6 separate regions of the Homo sapiens genome follow, and all the other regions are linked to region 1. Evidence: promoter capture Hi-C in human tissues and cell types (Jung and others, 2019). All regions are on one chromosome and are shown on one strand. The core of a region is centred on a gene start or on the middle of the fragment in contact, and the rest is flanking DNA. Distances in the headings are between cores, read along the strand shown. Region 1 holds the start of GALNT18 (polypeptide N-acetylgalactosaminyltransferase 18). Region 2 has its middle 10 kb from the start of MIR8070. Region 3 overlaps GALNT18 (polypeptide N-acetylgalactosaminyltransferase 18). Region 4 overlaps GALNT18 (polypeptide N-acetylgalactosaminyltransferase 18). Region 5 overlaps GALNT18 (polypeptide N-acetylgalactosaminyltransferase 18). Region 6 overlaps GALNT18 (polypeptide N-acetylgalactosaminyltransferase 18).

Evidence for each region. The method cuts DNA at HindIII sites, captures the fragments that hold promoters and counts their contacts. A contact is called where the count stands out against the background at its distance.
Region 2: a fragment that was not itself captured here is called in contact with the fragment with the promoter of GALNT18 in region 1 in 3 of the 25 tissues and cell types used here (heart left ventricle, liver and mesendoderm cells).
Region 3: a contact is called between a fragment that was not itself captured here and the fragment with the promoter of GALNT18 in region 1, in 1 of the 25 tissues and cell types used here (H1 embryonic stem cells).
Region 4: a fragment that was not itself captured here is called in contact with the fragment with the promoter of GALNT18 in region 1 in 3 of the 25 tissues and cell types used here (H1 embryonic stem cells, aorta and dorsolateral prefrontal cortex).
Region 5: a contact is called between a fragment that was not itself captured here and the fragment with the promoter of GALNT18 in region 1, in 1 of the 25 tissues and cell types used here (aorta).
Region 6: a contact is called between a fragment that was not itself captured here and the fragment with the promoter of GALNT18 in region 1, in 1 of the 25 tissues and cell types used here (mesenchymal stem cells).

The regions. Positions count from the first base shown.
Region 1 is chr11:11,620,408-11,623,478 of GRCh38, forward strand. GALNT18 (polypeptide N-acetylgalactosaminyltransferase 18) reads right to left here and starts at 1,598. Exons shown (of 11, transcript NM_198516.3): 1 at 952-1,598. The coding sequence starts at 1,186. RefSeq lists enhancers at 1-448, 1-40, 1,081-1,130, 1,341-1,420, 1,538-2,038 and 1 more and silencers at 621-690, 711-790, 1,541-1,900. The HindIII fragment of the contact is 13,654 bases long and covers 1-3,071 here.
Region 2 is chr11:11,792,077-11,795,255 of GRCh38, forward strand. No RefSeq gene overlaps it. Among named protein-coding and RNA genes, the nearest start is that of MIR8070, 10 kb to the left of the region's middle. The HindIII fragment of the contact is 5,691 bases long and covers 1-3,179 here.
Region 3 is chr11:11,446,015-11,449,251 of GRCh38, forward strand. GALNT18 (polypeptide N-acetylgalactosaminyltransferase 18) reads right to left here. Exons shown (of 11, transcript NM_198516.3): 2 at 2,730-2,922. Among named protein-coding and RNA genes, the nearest start is that of CSNK2A3, 94 kb to the left of the region's middle. The HindIII fragment of the contact is 8,293 bases long and covers 1-3,237 here.
Region 4 is chr11:11,379,859-11,382,753 of GRCh38, forward strand. The region is part of intron 3 of GALNT18 (polypeptide N-acetylgalactosaminyltransferase 18); the gene reads right to left. Among named protein-coding and RNA genes, the nearest start is that of CSNK2A3, 28 kb to the left of the region's middle. The HindIII fragment of the contact is 3,628 bases long and covers 1-2,895 here.
Region 5 is chr11:11,421,231-11,424,365 of GRCh38, forward strand. All of the region lies in intron 3 of GALNT18 (polypeptide N-acetylgalactosaminyltransferase 18), which reads right to left. Among named protein-coding and RNA genes, the nearest start is that of CSNK2A3, 70 kb to the left of the region's middle. The HindIII fragment of the contact is 5,192 bases long and covers 1-3,135 here.
Region 6 is chr11:11,468,492-11,471,406 of GRCh38, forward strand. The region is part of intron 1 of GALNT18 (polypeptide N-acetylgalactosaminyltransferase 18); the gene reads right to left. Among named protein-coding and RNA genes, the nearest start is that of GALNT18-AS1, 100 kb to the right of the region's middle. The HindIII fragment of the contact is 5,610 bases long and covers 1-2,915 here.

The DNA of each region.
Region 1 (3,071 bases), core at 348-2,847:
TTGACCAGGTCGCCTCGGGAGAGCGCCCTGCAACCCCCACCCTCCCTTTGGACCCCCGCGCTGGTCTGGAGCGCACCCAACCAGCGTAACCTTACACTTCAGACCCAACCCAGGTCTGCTCAGCCCCGGCTGCTCCCAGGGCCTGAGAGTGGAGCTACAGTAGGGATCGGCCTTCACCCGGTCCCGGGCGGCTCCGCGGGGAAGGCGCAGCCCAGGGCGTGTTCTTCCAGTCTTGGGCGGAGTCATCACCACAGTGGACAGAGACTCCAGCGCTACTTCCCGGCGTTGACACCTGCTCCTGGAGAGGGTCCTGGACCCGCGGGCTGTGGTGGGGGTAGGGACTGCTATAGGTTCAAGCGGCTTTTCAACCACAGAGGGCTCCTTGCATTCCCTATCGCCTACCAACGGGATCACAGCAAGACTGGGGCTGGGGCTGATACAACGCAATTTTCCTAGCCTCGCTTGTCCGGCAGCCTGCGGGTCTTAACTGCCAATAGTCAGGGCCGCCGCGCGGGCATCTCGCCTGACGCCTACAGTGGCCAAAAAAGCTCGTTTGCCCGCGCGTTCCCTCTTGTACACACACAGACATTCACATGCACACACACTCTGAGCCGGACTTGTGTGCGATCCCGAGAGCCCGCGAGCAACCAGCCCAGAGTCACACGCACATTTGGACACGTGCGCAGCGCGCCCCCATACCGCCAGCTAGCTGCACACATCCGCTCGTGCAGCCCTGCGCACACACGTGTGCCCCGGGGAAGAGCGCACGGCCGCAGACAGAAGGTCCCGAACGCAGGCAGGAGCTCACACGCAGGCCCCACGACTACCACGCATCTGCGGCCCCAGAGCCCCGCCGTGGCTGAGTTGATGCGCACCAGCCCCAGCGCACCCCGCGCCGCGCGGGGCACTCCCGGGCCTCATGGGCGACCCAAGTTTCCGGGGCGCCCGTACCTTGAATGTGCTGCTTGATGACATTCTCCAGGTGGTCCAGCCGCTCAATAATCTTCAGAGTGTCCCCTTTGTCTTCCTCCAGCTTCTTGTCGGGCGCCGGCTCCTGCCCCCGCACATACACGCTGGCGATGTAGTTGGTGACCCAGCCCACGTAGAGCAGGCAGATGATGTTAGTCATGCCGCTCAGGATCACGCAAGTGGACACCAAAGTTTTGGTCTTCCTGGTGCACACCATTCTGGGCTCCTTCCTCCATATAGAGCTCCCGGGGGCCCTTCCTTGTCGTGCGCCCCGAACTCCCCCGCGCTCGCACCCCGTAGCACGTCCGGAGCCGCTGGGCACCTCAGCACCTGAGTCCCGAGGTTCTCCAAAGCCCGGTCCGCTGCCGGTGTAGCCGCCGTGCCCAAGTTTGCAGCTCCTGCCGCTGGCCACCCGGAGAGACCTTGACAAAGGAAACCAGGTGGATTTTTTTCCAAATTAAAAATCCCTGAACCCTTCCTAGAGGGGTCACGGGTAGCCGGCAGCCGCGCGTCCAGATGTGTACGTCTGGGAAACTTTGCCACTGCCTGTGTCGGCGGCCACGCCGCTTCCCATCGCCAGCGCCGGCTGCCTTGGCGGTCCGACCGGCCCGCGCTGCTAGGAGAACAGCGGCAGCGGCAGCGGCGGCGGGGAGAGCCGCGAAGCAGAGCGGCCCGGCCCCCTCCGAGCGACAAGCGCTGCCACCAATCGCGCTCCGGCTCGGGAGAGGGGCCGGTGCTGAGCGGCAGCGGACCAACGGGGAGGGAGCGGGGGGCGGAGTCCAGCTCCCAGGCCCCACCTGCTGGCCGCCCCTGGCTCCCGCCCCCAGGGACGCGCCCGGGCCTCCACCCGCGCCTGCACAGGCTGCCCCAGACCTGAAGCTCCCGGAGAGGGCGCGCTGCCAGTCCCAGCCCTTAGGTCGGCAGCTTCCTCCGTTAGGGGAATTCCATCTCTTGCTCTTGGGCAGGAATCTCCTGGTTTTGTGGAGGGGGTGGGGGGTTCGCACGGGTCAGCTTCTTTCATCCGCCCGGGGCTTCTCGCATTGGTGCCACCAGTCGACTCCTGGAATCTTTTCTTGGTTGCCAGGACGCTGAGAAGCCAAGGAAGTGCCAGCCCCAGCGGCATCCACTCCTTCCTTGGCCTCACTTGGGCCTCCACCCTGCCCTCTGCCCTTCAGCCACCGGCCTCCTGAGTGTGTCCAGACCTGGCCCTAAACCTGGCTGAAAGGAGCCAACCCTCCGGCAACCTCCCAGAAGCAACATTGGTGACCTATTAGATGACTCTCTCGACCACTTCTTCCCCCCCCCCACCCCCCACCCCCCACCCCCACCGCCTGCCCCAATTTTTGCCCCTATCTAGGTTTTTCTTTAAGTCTGTACAGCTCCCAGGACATGGATGTGTCCTTTAAGCCCAGTTTTCATTTATGTGGAACCAGGGTCATCCAGTGCATAAAGAAACCCTGCAAGGAAGTGCCGCTGAGGGGAACTGAGGTCTGTGAACTGTAAAGCCCTTCTACATGTTGTTTATGATTGCTATCATAGAGGGCGGTGGGAGAGACCTGTGACTGAGCACAGGAGGAGGCCAGACGCAGACAGTGATACTGCTGTGTTTGTTCTTACTGCCAATGTTTACTCATATTATCCTCTTCTGCTGAACACCCCGTTCTCAGCACCTGAACGGAATTCCTTTAAACAAAGACTTTTTACAACATAGATTTCCTGCCTCTTCTCCATCTCTGAGTTGCTTTATTTTTTTGGCCTAAGCCAGGGAGGCAGCCTGCTGCATGCCCACTTTGTTGTGTGCCAGCCTTCCAACCAGCCACAGAAATACTCAGGGCAGCTCCATCCTGGGATATCTTCTGGATTCAAATGACTGGCCCCACAAGAGAGGGAGAGCACAAAACCAAAGAAAGGGCACTTTATGGCCCCATCAGCCAAGGGCCCTTCTACCAATGCTTTGTTTACAAAACCTCCCCAAAGATGCTATGAAAACAGATACCAACTAGGGACCCGGGAAGATTTCCCTTGATCCATAGCTGGAAGAGAGAACAGTGGGTGTGGGTTGGCGTGGGCTGGGGTATAGAAGGGGGAGAAGAATCGTGTGT
Region 2 (3,179 bases), core at 318-2,817, 170 kb after region 1:
AGCTTACTCCTTTTGAAGATGTATTTTTTGCTGAGAAATCAACTATTGTATCTGTTTTCAAATGTATAGCCATAAAGATGCATGTAATACCCCTTACAATTGTTTTTATCTCTATCACTTCTAATTTTATAGTTTTCTCTTTTTTCTTTAATCATAGAACCAGTGTTGGAAGTCTAGTCTTTCTGCTTCCAGCCCTAGTCCTCACACCACTGCTCCATACCACAACCTTGGAGGCTAATTAAGGCTGAATCAAAACAATTTTGACTGATATGATGTAAAAGACTTAGTCAATTGAAGAAATCAGATTTTTACACAGTTCAAATTATTCTTATTTTTACTTTTAAAAAAAGCTGTCTTGGCATAAGTAGAATCAACAATAAGACATATCCATGCTTGGCAAAATCTTGGGAAATTTGAGTTCTTATTTAACAAGCAGATTCACTGTTTTCTTGATCCTAAAACTGGTTTCTGACCAGCACTGATCATTTCCATGGAGGAAACAAAATCTATCTGAATCTGAATGTTATTTAATTCTTGAAAATGGTATTCAAACTAACATGAGATTTTATTCAGTTTAATAAAATACTACCTAATTAGGAAGAAGCTTTACTACTATCTCTAGGGATATATTAATATCATTAAGAAGAACATATGCTTGAAAATTATATGTACATTTATAATTTTGTTCCCTTCTGAATAGAAAAGACTATTTAATTAAGATTATTACTATCTTTAAAGTTTTTCTCAAGGGAAATGGTCTTCATGCTAAGCTACATATCTTCTATGGAAAAAAAATTGTCTAAAAAACCCTGAAATTCTACAAGTACATATGCTCTGGTTGTATCCTAAGGAGAACTCCCTTCCTCCCTCCCTCATTATATTTCTATTGTACAATATCAACCAGGGTTGCTTGCATGTGCTTGCTTGCTTGCTCTGTGATGATTTTTAACAATTTTTTTTATGAGCAAAGTGGAGAGATAAACCAATTCTTCATATAATTTATACCAAGAAAAAAAAAAGAAGAAGAAGAAGACAAAAGAATACGGAGCCTAACAGGAGGGTGCAGAAAAGTCCACCTGCTGCAATCCAGACAAGGATACAGATGACTGCTCATCCATCCATTTTGCTTTGTCCTCAGTCTGAACATCTTCTCTTCCCCTATGGTGAGTGTATTTCCGTTTGTCCCATGCTCTTCTATTTCCCTTCTATTTCAGGGTTCCACTTTCTTACTTCCCTTGCCCTGTGTATAATCTGGCCTCTGCTGATACTGTTCTCCCAAAGACCACCTTCCCTGTTATAGGTGAAACTGTGTCACAGTTGGAAATTATATCTGCACAGTTAAAAATTATATCTGTCTTAACTGATTACATAATTATTATATAATTACTATAGAACCAGCGCTGAACGCTAGTCTTTCTGCTTCCAGCCGTAGTCCTCATGCCACTGCTCCTATATCGCACCCCTGGAGGCTAATTAAGCCTGAATCTATAAATGGAAATCATTTTGACTGATTTAAAAGACTTAGTCCTGGAACTTAAAATTAAATTAAATTAAATTAATTTTTTTAAAAAGACAAAATGACAGGGGGACTCACATGATATCAATCTTCAATCTCTTCTAAGTACATTTAAAAGCACTCCAGAAGCATCAGTATACACATATCACAACATTCTTCATCCATTGTTGAGTCCAATTATTGTTGAATATTTTGTTTTTGCCAAATAGCTACCTTTGAGGAATTTACAACCTAGTAGCCACAAACTACAAATTTCCCTAGTTATAAATCATTCTGGTTATTGGATTTTTAATTATATCATACCGAGCATGTACAAAAGAAAGTTTTATATATATATAAATTATGAAACATAACAATGAAATAAATATCCTATGAATCTACCACCTAGCCTAAGAACTAGAATATTCCCAATGTCCATGAATTAACCTGCAAGCCCCTTTATTATCCCCACCAGAACTAACCACTCTCCTGAAATTTTGCGTGTATCTTTCCTTTGCTTTTCTTATAGTGTTATTCCATATATATGCATTTCTAAACACTAAATTAAGCTTTGCTTTTTTCAAACTTTTTTTAATGGCATTGTGCTGTATGGAGTCTTTTGTGATCTGCTTTTCTTTATTCAGTATTAAGTTTTAAGATTTGTTCATGCTATAGCTGTGTAGCTGTGATTTGTTCATCTTAACTACTGTATAATGCTTCATTTTATTTATCTAGTCTCATGATGATGGACATTTGGGATGTTCCCATTATTTTTCTATTACAAATAGCACTGCTAGGAACATTTTTGCACATGTGTGGTGTTTATAAACAAGAGTTTCTCTAGGATATACCTAGAAAGAGAAATGCTGGGTCCTGGAGCATATTCATTTCCAAAATGGCTATATCAATTTATAGTTCCCTCAGTAAGGTATAGTTTTCCATTGATCTATATTCACTCCAATAGTTAATATCAGCAGATTTATCTTTTAAATTTTGTGGATTTAGTGAATGTGTAATGTTATCGCTATTTTAATTTATGTTTCCTTGATTATCAATAAAATTTAGCACATTATCATAAAAAAGAAATAAAAAGACTTAGTCAATTGAAATCAGATTTTTACAAAAATCTGTGTATAATCTGACCACAGATCTGTGTATAATCTGACCCTAGGTAAAATTTGACCACAGATTATAATCTGTGTATAATATGATCTGCAAAGATGCCAGCAAACCACCAGAAGCCTGGTCTGCAAAGATGCCGGCAAACCACCAGAAGCAAGGTGAGGGGCATGGAACAGATCCTTCCCACCCAGTTCTTGAAATTGTCACCTAATGCTGCAAAACTATAGTTCATTGATCCTCTTCTGCTGTTTCTTCCCATCTTCTCTGACTTCTTTTCCTCCACCCCCCAAAAATGTCAGTGCCCTCAATTTTCTATCTAAAATCATTTTATATCTAAAATTATATAATAATATAAATATTATATAATTAGTTAAGACAAGGTCATACTGGAGCAGGGCGGGCTCCTAATCCAATATGACCCGTATCTTTACAAAGAGGGGAAATTTGAACAGAGACATCCACACAGCGAAAATGCCATGTGAACATGAAGACAGAGATTGAGACGATGCATCTATAAGCCAAAGATGCTGGCAAACCACCAGAAGTGAGGTGAGGGGCATGG
Region 3 (3,237 bases), core at 462-2,961, 170 kb before region 1:
CGCTCTCATTGTGCAGCATTGTGCACAGTCAAATAAACAATGGTGGGCCGATGTCAAAGCCACGATCCGGCATCTGAGACATGGGCTCAAGGCTCAGCTCAGTTGCTTATCTGACTGTGTGACCTCAGACAACACTCTTTCCGCTCTTCAGTTTCCTCAACTCAAACCGGAAGAATCTACCATTGCCTGGCGTACCTTCACTGCCCTGTTAATGTGGTCCAAATGGGAAGGGCATTATCGGCACGTCCAGCACTATGGGAATCCCAGTTGTTGTTATAACCAGGTTATAATCTGTAAAATCCACCCTTTCCTTGGCTTCCTTTCCATTTTCCCTTTAATTTTGAACAAATATGGATTGAGCTGTGCCTGTGTTTTGTAACAGATTGACTGAAAAGTCCATGGCTCTTCTTCTGGCCAAGGTCATGGCCAAGTCCCCTGCAGGAACTAGAGGGCCCTATTCCTGATGATCTCTTCTCCAGAGCCCCTGTGTGCTGCCCCCACCAGACCAGCTCCTCTCCAGACCCAGGAGTGGTCTCTGCAGCTCCTCTGTGGACTGAGGCCCCATGACACTTAGCTGAGGTCACTTTCAGGATATTTCCAGAATCCAACCCCATCTCAGCACCTCCCCTGCTGCCATCATGGTCCAGGCCACCACTGCCTCTCACCTGGAAGCCTCTTAATTGGTCTCCATGCTCCCAGCCTTGCCCCCTCGGTCTGTTCTCAGTATAGCAGCCACAGGCACCTTTGCAAGTGACAATTAGCATATTGCTAATCTGCTCAAGCCCTTCCCATGGATCTCTGTCTCACAGAGTAAATGCTGCACTCCTTGCAAAAGCCTATGAAGCCCTTCTCCTGGGATTCACCTTGACTGCACATCGGAATCACCCAGGAGCTCTAAACAATACTGAAGCTGAGTGCTGCCCCAGAAACACTTATCTAATTGGTCTGGGGTGTGGCCTTGGCATCAGGATTGTTTTTTAAGGCTCCCGTGATGTGTAGAATGGGCAGCAAGGTTGAGAACCACGGCCCTAATGATCTGCTTCCTGTTGCTCCTCTGGCCTCATCTCCAACTACTGCCCCCTTACACACCCCATTCCAGCCACAGGGGCCTCCTTCCTCTTCCTCAAACATGACGTGCCATGCGTGCTTCTGCCTCAGGGCCTTTGCACTTGCCACTTCCTCTGCCTGAAAGGTACTCCCCCCATCCTCCAACAGTACCCTCATGGCTTGCTTCCTCTTCTCCTCCAGGTCTTTGCTCAAATGTTACCTCTTACTGAGGTCTTCTCTGACCACGCAGGAAAAATTGCAGCTCCCCACTCTTGTCCCAGGTGTCTCTCTCTCTCTCCGACTTTATATTTCTCCATAGCACTCACCACCACCTAACATACTGCATATTTGACTTCTTTGTTTTGTTTACTCTCTGCCTCCACCCAACTAGAATGCCAGCTCTGTGAAGCAGGGGTTTCTGTATGTTTTGTTCACTGCTTTGTCCCTTGTATTAGTCCATTCTCATGCTGCTATGAAGAAATACCTGTGACTGGGTAATTTATAAAGGAAGGAGGTTCAATTGACTCACAGTTCTGCATGGCTGGGGAGGCCTCAGGAAACTTACAATCATGGTGGAAGGCACCTCCTCACAGGGTGGCAGGAGAGAGAATGAGAGCCAGCAGGGAAAATGCCAGACGCTTATAAAACCATCAGATCTCATGAGAACTTACTCACTATCAGGAGAACAGTATGGGGGAAACCACCCCCATGATTCAGTTACCTCCTACCTGGTCCCTCCCACAATATGTGGGGATTATGGGAACTACAATTCAAGATGAGACTTGGGTGGAGACACAGCCAAACCGTATCATCCCTGTGTCTAGACTATGCTGGCACAGAAGTGCTTAATAAATGACCTGCAAGTGAAAGCACATTCTTCTCTCCCTTTGGACATCCTCAGCTGCTCTTTCATCCTAGCCGAGCCAGGTTCTCCCTGAGCCACAAATAACCATACCCAATTATACAGTATACAGCAGGTGTTCAATGAATGTCTGTGGAGCTGAACTGAATCTTCTCCCTAAAAGAACACGGCCTCCAAACCCAGCAGCAAGATCTTTCTCAAAGACTCCAGATATAAGCTCACTGTGGTTTGCAGCTTTTAAAAAAATGTAAAAATGAGGAGAAAAGGGGGAAAACACTGTGGGGGGGAGCTCACAAAAATTAATGAGATTTTCTCAGCTGAGGTACATGCCCACATTTTCAATAATTGGGAGTAGTAAGAATTCTCACTGAACCTTAAAGGAACATCCTTCTGTAACAAAGAGAGAAGTCAAGACAGACTTCTCTGTCAGATGTAACGACTTGTTAGCCCCACAAGATAGATGTACTTTAAAAACTAATTTACAGAAAAAAGATTATGCATAAAATGCAACTAATTGGGTTAAAATGACGTATTAACAGGAATGTGAGATGATTGTAGTGTCCTTAACGAGTAAATTAAGTTGTTAATCCTCAAAATCTCTACTGGAAGAAAGCTTTGCCCCTACTCAGCTAATGGAGAAACTGAGGCTGAGGGAAGAGGAGAGTGACTTGCTGAACGCAAGCCGAGGGGACAGGCCCTGGCTGAAGCAGGAAAGGGACCCAAGAATCCAGGCGCCCAGTCCTGCTCTGTTCCCAGCACTCTGGGGACCCCATCTCCCCATAGGCAGGTCGACAAGGGCCCAGTCACTGACTCTGCTCACCCACTGGGTCTGAGGTCAGGCAGGGGCCGGTCCAGGGGCAGGCGGTCGCTGAGGTAGGCGTTGTAGCCGTAGTACTGGAATTGCTTCAGGGCCACGCGCCGGCCTTCGGGGCTGAGCTCCTGGCCCCAGTGTGCAAACAGAGAGGAGTCTGTGAAGGGCTCGGCCTCTGCCTCCTCAGGCTTGGCAGGAGCCTCTGGAGAAAGAAGGAACAGGAGACAGTGGGTCAGAGTGCACCCCTGCATGTGCCATGACAATCCCTTTCCCTTCCTCACAAACAGCCTTTGGTAAAACAATCTTAGCCCCTTCTTTCGGGGTCAGTGCTGACTTGGGTTTTCATGCTTCCCAAAGACCCATTCATCCATGAATCCATCCATTCATCTAACCCACAACCACCAGGCACAGGAGTTAGAGAAATACACCTGACAGGGTCTGCTGAGAAGCTAATGGATGTGACATTGATGCCCCATGGCTTCAAGTCAGGACCCCCTTTTTCCCCAGTCTGCCTCCC
Region 4 (2,895 bases), core at 328-2,827, 240 kb before region 1:
GCATTTGATGCCTCTGCTTCTTCATAACTGTAAATGGGGCCTGCAGCAACAGAAACAGGCCTCAGCAGCAGCCCCCTGAACCCTCAGCAAGAGAGGGCACAGCCACTGCATTCATTACCTTTTTCATAGCAGCTAAGGCAAGAGCCCATGACAGCCCTCACAGTTGGTTGGACAGGATTCTAAAGTTCCTTTTGAACCAAGCATCCATCCCAAGGTGTGAATTCCCTCTGTCTGCCCTGATGAGTGATCATGCAGCCCCTGCAGTAAAAGGGAAATCCATGCAATCCATTCCTTAGAGGGCCTCTTCAACTATTAGATGTTCTTCCTTCTTCTGACCTCCAAATGCCAGGGTCCCTCAATCTTACATTCATGAGTCCAATGGGACCTATTTTGGAGCCATAGAAGACAGATCAAGTCCCACTTTCCACATAACAACTGAAGCCCATTCTTAAGTCCTTGCTAAGGACTTCTCTAGGTCAAATATCTTCAGTTCTTCCTTGTGTTTCCGCATATTTCATGATTTCAAATTCTCTAATCATGTTGAACTTCCCTCTAATTAAGTTAGTTTTTCTTGAACCCTTTCATATTATGCAGAAGTTGACCTAATACTTCTAAAGTAAACTGGGCTATACAGAATAGAAGAAATAAATCACCTCCCTTAATCTAGAATCTATGCTCCTATTAATATAATCTAAAGTCACAACAACTTTGATTGCTTTTGTCTCAAATTAAGCTTACTGCTAACATATACTTACAAATTATTTTTACATGGTGCTACTAAGTCAGGCCTCCTCCATCCCATCTCTGTGGATGCGGGTGCATGTGCAGGTGCTTGTGTGTGTGTGCACACATGGGTGCCTGCTCTGAGTCAAAACAAAGAATCTTATGTTTACTTTTATTTAATCAGCCTTTCTAAAGATTTCCACTATTTCTTTGGAGGTCAAAGTGTTTTTGTCCCCTGATTTCATTACCCAATGTCTTTCTTATCCAGCCCTTCTAGGTTTCCAGCTTCTGCAAAAGTGATGAGCATATGGCCTTTCTTGTCATTCAAGTGATCCTTTTAAACAGTGTGACCCCTGTCCTAAGCTAGGGCTGGTGGGGGCTGTCAGTGTCCTCATTCCAGCCTGGAGAAAACTCGACTGACTTCTGGGCTGCCACTGACATGCTGTATATCTCACTGCAGTCCATACGGAAATGACCTCAAGATCTCCAATTGCTGCAGCTGCCTGGGGAGGTCACTGTCCCACAAATGTCAGGACATTGGCCATGGAGCAGCATAACTCAATATGTCTCACACTTACAAGGTCTTCAAGCACCGTTGCCAGGAGGCTTCTTAAAACATTTACTGTTTTATCACTTCCAAGGTCCATTTCTCATATATCCTTTTTGAAAAATTTAAATAGAGCTCATAAAGTCTGATATCTGGGTTTTTGATGGTGGCAGTTAAGTGTTGAGTGCACAGAACTTGAAGTGAGAACTGGGCTAGTACCAAATGGCCTGATACAAATCCCCTCTCTTCCCCATGAAAGGGATACCTGTCCCCTTCTCTCCCTCCTCAACCCTCAGGTGAGACTCCTGCCAGTTGACTCCTGCCAATACCTACCATGACTAAGGTATTGATGGGAGGAGGCTGAGGATGATTGCTACCAAATGGTCTCCTATGAATTTCACCTCTCTGAATTCACATCTTTGTGTGGCTGCCTCACACACTGAGTCTGGGCTGGACCGTGACACAGCAGGACACAGCAAGAGGGACCCTGCGCAAGTTCCAGGCCTTTTGCATTTGCTGTCTTGCTGCCCTAACTAAGGAAGGTCTAGGCAGCCTCTTCCCCAGCCCAGTCATTAGGCCACCCCACAAAGGCCCCAGACAGGTGAGTGAGGCCCTCGTGGATCCTTCAGCCCCAGTCGGGCCACCAGCTGATTGCAAATGACAGGGAGAGCCATTGTGTAGAGCAGAGACAGGCTGCCCAGTGATCCCAGCCTTTATTGCAGGATTCTGGGCCAATGGATGGTTGCTGATTCACACCATAACTTCTGGAATGGTTTGTTATACACAATGGCTGTAATAAACATTTTCTATTGTTCTGGTCCGGTGCTGGGGTTAAAATAAGATTGTGAACTCCTGATGCACAGGAAATGCAATCAGAGGAAGAATGAGCTTTGAGGGGTGGCAGCAAGAGATGGAAAGCTTTGCTTCCTATAGGAGCTACTTGCCTCTTTGTACCTGCGAGCTCTGTTAACACTGAGCTAGAGTAAAGGCTTCTGGTGGACCAGATAGTAGAAAAATTCCATCCCCAGTTAGTTGCATCCCAAACATGTGCTGCTGATTAGAAGAGGGAATTCTCTTAGCCCCAACCAAACAACTGCTATCCAAAAAAGAAAATAAAGAAGAAACAAAATGCCTTGAAGTACCCTAGATGATACTGGCTCTGTCTTTGCAAAGTACCTTTACTTAATTAGGTTTTCATGTTTTCTTTCAATCTTTGTTAAGTGCCAAAGCAAGAAAGAACTATCCCAAAAATACTTCTGCGTTGGCTGGAAAATTGCTTTCCAAAACACTGTCCATTGTATATTATATATATTGACTATTAACTATTTTATATACACATAAACACACACACATACCTGTTCACATATAATATCTCTCAGAACTTCTTAGCTCCAAAGATTGTGTTTTTGGAGTTGAACTTGTGTTTTTTCTTACAGCCAAACACAAGTACCCAGCCCATCATATTTGCCTTCTTGCTAAGGCTGCCAGGAAGCTCAAAGACAAATATAATGACTAATCACAAAGATTTTATCAGGATTTTTGCTGCCCTATCTTTGCTAAACCTTTGATTTTCTGGTTCAAATTTAAAAGCTGATTGACTTTTACCTTTTATTCCCTATGCAAGC
Region 5 (3,135 bases), core at 612-3,111, 200 kb before region 1:
GGCCGGTGAGAGCAGAGAAGAGGCTGGCAACATGCAGGACTAGAGCTGGAGAAATGGATTGAGCCCTGGGGCTGGTCCACAAAGAGGCGGGTGACTCAAGAGCTGATATACTTAGGCATCACTAAGGATGCTCATTTCAGGAGGAGCTTATCGGTGGGAAGTCCCAGCCCCCATGATGTAGGAAGCCAGGTGGATCGAACCGTGGAAGCAGAGCCCCAGTTTGGTGTACAGGGAACAGAGTCTAGCCCCTCAAGGAAGAGGATTGACCAGGGCTAGCTGGGAAGCTGGGGCCCAGCTAAGGGGATGAGGCAGGCATCAGAGCAAGATTCCATTCCATCAGAGAACAGCAAGTTGACAGGAAACAGAGGCAGGCCAAACGCAGGACCAATGCAGAGAAGGTTGGGGAAAGCTGGGGTTGCTGGCCAGCAGGTACAGGGAAGTCATCCCAGGCTGCTGCACTGCTGTTAAGTCAAGGCCACCCACTGGGAAGAAACAATACTTCTCTGCAGAGTCTCTGCAGAGTCTCTGCAGAGGTCAGGACTGGCCACGCTGCTAGCACACAGCATCTTGATGTACTTGGCCAAAAGGTGCCTTCTCTGGACTATGCAGTTAGAAAAGGCACTTTGGAGACAGACTCACACCAGGATGCATAATTTAGCAAATAGACAGCACAGACTTTATTTTAGCCCCTACGTGCCCCTGGCCTGGGTGCCCTGGCATAGAATCATGCATGGCAGCTGAGAGGTAGGTTCAGAAATGGACACAGTTGAATCAGTTGAATCTGTCAGATATCTATATCATCTATATCTATATCATCTATATCTATATCTATATCTATGAGAGAAACTTTACTTCCATAGAAAGTGGCCAAAGCAGGGCCCAGGCCTGGGGTCAGGGCTTGAATCAACAGGGAGAGATGGGCATTCAATACTCAGAGTAGCCAGAAACTCAAGAGTCATATAAGTCATTACAGTAAGAGCTTGGGAAAGTGCTGCTGGACACCACCAGAGGAGATGTAGCAGTGGCCATGCCCAAGAGGAACTCTCAGGCCTGGTATAGGATGTGGCAGGCAGAGGCAACCTCAGGCAGCAAGGAGCAACAATAGGAGAACCCAGGACTCAGGTGGTACTGGGTGGTGTGCACCCCAAGGTTGCCAGGTATTTGCTGCCAGTCTTGAGGGTGAGCCAGCCTAGTTGCACTGGTCAAAGCCATAGAGGCAGGCAGTGGCAAAGAGCCTTTGGCTGAACGGGCTGACAGCCCATGTGCTTGGCTGTGTAAACACCTTTAAGCTGCCTGAGTCTTGGTTGTAATTTGATTAGCTACATGGGATTCTTTAAGCTCCATAAAGCACAATACTGTTGGACCATTCTTTTCCTCTGTTTTTTTTGTTGTTTTTTTTTTTTTAACTTTTGCAATTATTCCAGCTGCATGCAAAGCTGTTGGTAGTTTTACAGCCTGGAATGAGTATCTCTTGTGTAGGACAGAATCTTTGAAACATTAAACAATGATTAGGCAGACTCTGGGCCAAGGGATAATGGGGGTTCTGCAGGGGGTGGGGAAGGACCCAGCAGCTGGTGGCAAGCAATCTGGGGAGCTCTGTTTCTATTTCATCACTACATTGACTTTCTTACCAACAATTAAAAATAACAATGATTCACAGTTGTGCAATTATTTGTCATTCATCAGGATTTTGAAGGTGGCTCCAGGTAGCAGTGGGTGGTGAAAGAGGCTCAACCCATTGTTAGTGGGGACTGAAACACCACTGTTCACACAAGCACACACAAGCCCACGTGCCCATGTGCCTGTATATGCTGCTTATGCATGCACACTACTGCGTAAGTGCGCACACACAGGTCCGCATCCACCCACAAGCACACTCACACACAGACACACAATACACACACAAACACAGTGCTCACATGGATGCATTAACACATACATGTGTGCACACATGCACACACACACTTGTATGCATGAATATGAACACATGGATATGCATGCAAGGCATGCACACAAACACATGTGTTATATGTATGTAACACGATACACATGTACACAAACGTATGTGTGCATACATGAACAGAGTACTTGCATATACATGTATAAAGATGTGCAGACATACACATGCACATACATGCACACTCACACAGGCATGCCAATTTCTCCCTATTTCAGAGAGAATAGGAAGCTGCCTCCCTCTCACAAGGTGACCTAAAGCATGGCTGCCAACTGTTCAATTACCTCTCACCCAACAGAAGCCAGAAAGCCTCTATGCAACCCATCTCTCCTTCTTACTGAAACCCCAGGCAAAGCTCCAGGCAAAGCTTGAGGCTAGGACACAGACACACCCTTCTCTGAAGTTCCCTTTTTGTCTCCTACTTCACTGGTCCTGCTGCCCAACATCTCTCTCTCTCCAGAGGGAATGGAGAAAAGGGATAAGGACAAAATTCAAATAAGTTGTTTGGAATCAGAGACCCATGGTGTACCAGAGGCAAGCAGCCTGTTTAATGGTAAAGGGTGTAGACGCTGAAACCAAACAGTCAAATCGCACCTCTGTAACTCTGGACAAATTCCTTAACTTCGCTGGGTCTGCCTCCCTGTTACATCAGGTGACATTGGTAATGGTCCATACCACCATCATATGGCACTGATTAATTTATGGTGAAGTACTTAAAATAGCTCTGGCACATACTAAGCGCTCAATGAGCTGGGGGCGCCTGGTCAGGACTCTTTCTATCTAGGGGCACTGGGGGTCACTTGAGTCTCAGGCCCAGGCCTGGAGAAGTGGGGGTCAAACTCCAGCCCGGGCCAGTGGCAGCTAGCTGAGTGGTGCCCAGCTGGAAGCCTGAACACCAGCCTGGGAAACCCTTCCTGGCCAAGCCTGCCTGCTGCCCCCAACAAAGTAGATGCAGGACCCCAGCCATCACCTGCACCCAAGAAAGGACCAGGGAGGCTCACCTACGTTGGACCTGCCATTTTAGTGCATGTGGCGGCTGTCCTGGCTCTGGTCTGCCCTCCCTAAGAAGCAATGGGGTGGGCTGGCTGTCAGGAGAGAACCAGAGAGGAGGTGCCCAAGTTGATGCCTCCCAGGCTTCCAGGAGTGGGAGAGTAGAGGAGATACAAGGTCCAGGGCCA
Region 6 (2,915 bases), core at 144-2,643, 150 kb before region 1:
ATGTGTTTCTGAAGCAGTGCTCCCCAGCATACACTTGGAGAAACAGATGGAAAAAAAAAAGCTTCCAACCAGCCCTTGCTCTAAGGGCAGGTGAGGCTGGGGCTGCAGGGAGGTTGCTGGGAGTCAAAGCCAGGCCAGGTTGCAGGACAGAGGATCTCAGGGACTCTTCATTGAGCCCCACTTTCCTGAGTCACTTGTAGTTAAGATTCTCGGGTCTGGGGGCTTTTTCAAACAGGATGCTCGCTAATGCTGGTCTACCACTCCACTTCAAGGATGACCAGCTTTGTAAGCAGCTGTCACTGAAGGGGGTGTGGCAGATTCTACAGGTGCTGGTGCTGGAGAAAATGTTATAAACCACCGAAAGAAGGATACAGGAGTCCAACAGGCTCCCTGCCTTCAGCGACCTTCGTTCTCCAGTGTGAGATGGATAGGTGAATGAGTATTGCTGGTGGACCATCATTGCACATGGGGCTGGCTGGCTGGCTGGACAGATGGACAGTCCTATAGACAGATGGCCATACAGCGGTTGCCAGGGTTTGGTAGGGACAGTGTGTTGGGCACAACCACTGCCTCTTGAGATGAGGCCACCAGGACACAGCACTCTTTAACCACGTCACTGTGAATCAGCCAGCTCTGATGATATTATTTTTTGGATCCCGGTAGCCAAGAAAAGCAGTCTGAGTTGCTATAAACATAAAGAAGCCCGTCTGCTTTCTTGCCTCTGTGAATGTCTCAGACAGTGCAGAACTAACGAAGGCCCCAAACCATGGTACCAGACTGTTCCCAGGGACTTCACAGAGGGAGCAGATGAAAGGCATGGAGACAGCGCTGAAAGCCTGCCCCTCATTATAAGCACTTCCAAGCTTCACAGCAATAGACAGTCCTCGTCAAGTTTGTTGTTATGGCTATGTCTTTTACAGGGTCCAGTACAGATCTCCATGGCAGAGACAGGCTGCTGCAGGGCTCAACAGAAGCCCCTGTCCTCTAGAGAGCAATCCCTGGTCCCCTGACCCCTAATTCACTTCTTCTCTAAACCTCACTGGATCTGCATCTTGGTGATCAACCTCTGACTTGTTTTCAGTTTGATCCATGAGGGCCATTTAGGGCTGCTCACATAGGCTGTGAGCTCTCTGAAAGCAAGGATCATCCATGCCCTTGTCAGCTGAGGGTCTCAGGGCTGGCTACATGGACGGTGTTAAGCAGATTTGCTAAAAGGTGGACTGTGAGTTGGTTGTTGGGGAATGAGTATAGGCTCCCTTAGGTGTTTTCAGCTTCCTCTTGCAGACTTTTCCAAAGGTATTTAGGGGCTCAGGTGGCAGTTAGACATGGGGCCTTTTCCAAGGACCCCCTCAGCCTGTCTTCCACTCAGCTCCATTGGAGAAGAGCATATTTAAGGACATAGTCATTCCATCAGGCCCCCAGAACAGGGTCCCTAGTCACAAGCTTTCCAAAACATCACTGGTCTCCAAGAGGATTTTGTTCTTTGAATGAATTGAAGTCCTGTTTGCTTGCCTTTGTAACTGCTTCCCATAGGAACCTTTAGAGAAAGACTGTCCCTCCAATCTGCTTCTGCCTCTCAGGTTACTTTTGCCAATTGACAGGGACACTTGGATGAGGATGGTTTTGAAGCTGTGACCAAGATGTTTCCCTGCCTTGAGAAGTCTCACAGCCAGCCCCCATCCATGCTTGACCACAGCTGTTACTTTCATTGTGTCACTAAGGGCAGAGACCCTGTACCACCAGGTTCAAGGCCAGGTCTTCAGTCCTCAGGCCCTAAGGTTAAGACCCAGGCACCAAGGGACATCCACATTCTGTCTCTACATAGTCCTGTGCAGGCATGGAGGAAATTGTACGGTCATGCCCTACATTCATATCTTGATCTATGGATGGGAATTTCCATCTTAGAAGACAAGAAGAAGCCCCCTATCCTTCTCCATTTATCTCACTTTCCCTCTGTCATCAGTGTGTGAGGAAGGCGCTATCCTCCACGCAGTCGGCTAGGCAAGTGAGCATGCTGTAGACCCCATTATTCCTATGCTAGAGGCTTGGGGATAGTGATAGGATGACTAATCGCTAGCTAATTTTGATCTTTTGATCTGTATATGATTCCTGTCTACTACTAAGCTAGCTGAGATATTGGCAGAGACAGGGGATTGACTGAAAGACCCCTTTCAGGCTCCACTAGCTGGGTCCCTTGGCAAATTCTCAGACCCCTTCCTTCCAGAGAGCTTCTTCCTGCCCCTGTGAGCCCTGTGCTGGGCAGCATCTCCCCAGACTACAGAACAGGAAGGACTGCCAGGAAGTCAGGTACCATGGTGTCTCCATGCTGCATTCTTAGCCTCTGACCATCTGTGGCCCCAGGACACTACTGTGCTCAGTGGGATGTTTTCCCCCTCCAGGTCCCCCTCCTAAAAACCTTTGCCTGAGAATCAAACGTCCTGCCAAATGGCTTCTTGATTTCTCCCCATTCATACTCAGGGGCCCGGGCACATCAATATCCCTCTTTCTCCTGTATCTTCCTTCCCTGCCTTTCCTCAGGACCATTTTCTTCCATCATCCTTGTGCTTCAGTCTCCCTCATCTAAGAAAACCTTTTCTGGGTCACTCTCATCCTAGCCTCTCATTTCCCCCACTTGCTTCCATTCCACTCCTTTTTTAAGAGGTCTACCCTGGCTTCCGCCTGTCCATCCGTCCTTCTGGTTGGCTTTCTACCTCTCTCATGGTTGCAGCAGTTCCCCAAGGGCAGGACTGTGCATTCAGAACATGGCGTCGGGCTCAGCACCTAATAGATGCACAAGAGAAGTTTGGTAAATAAATGAAAGAACAAATAAACCCACTCGATAAGTCATGCCCCACTTTAGGACTCAATTTGTTACCTATAAAGCAGTGAGTCATGTAGGACTGGTCCAGCCCTGA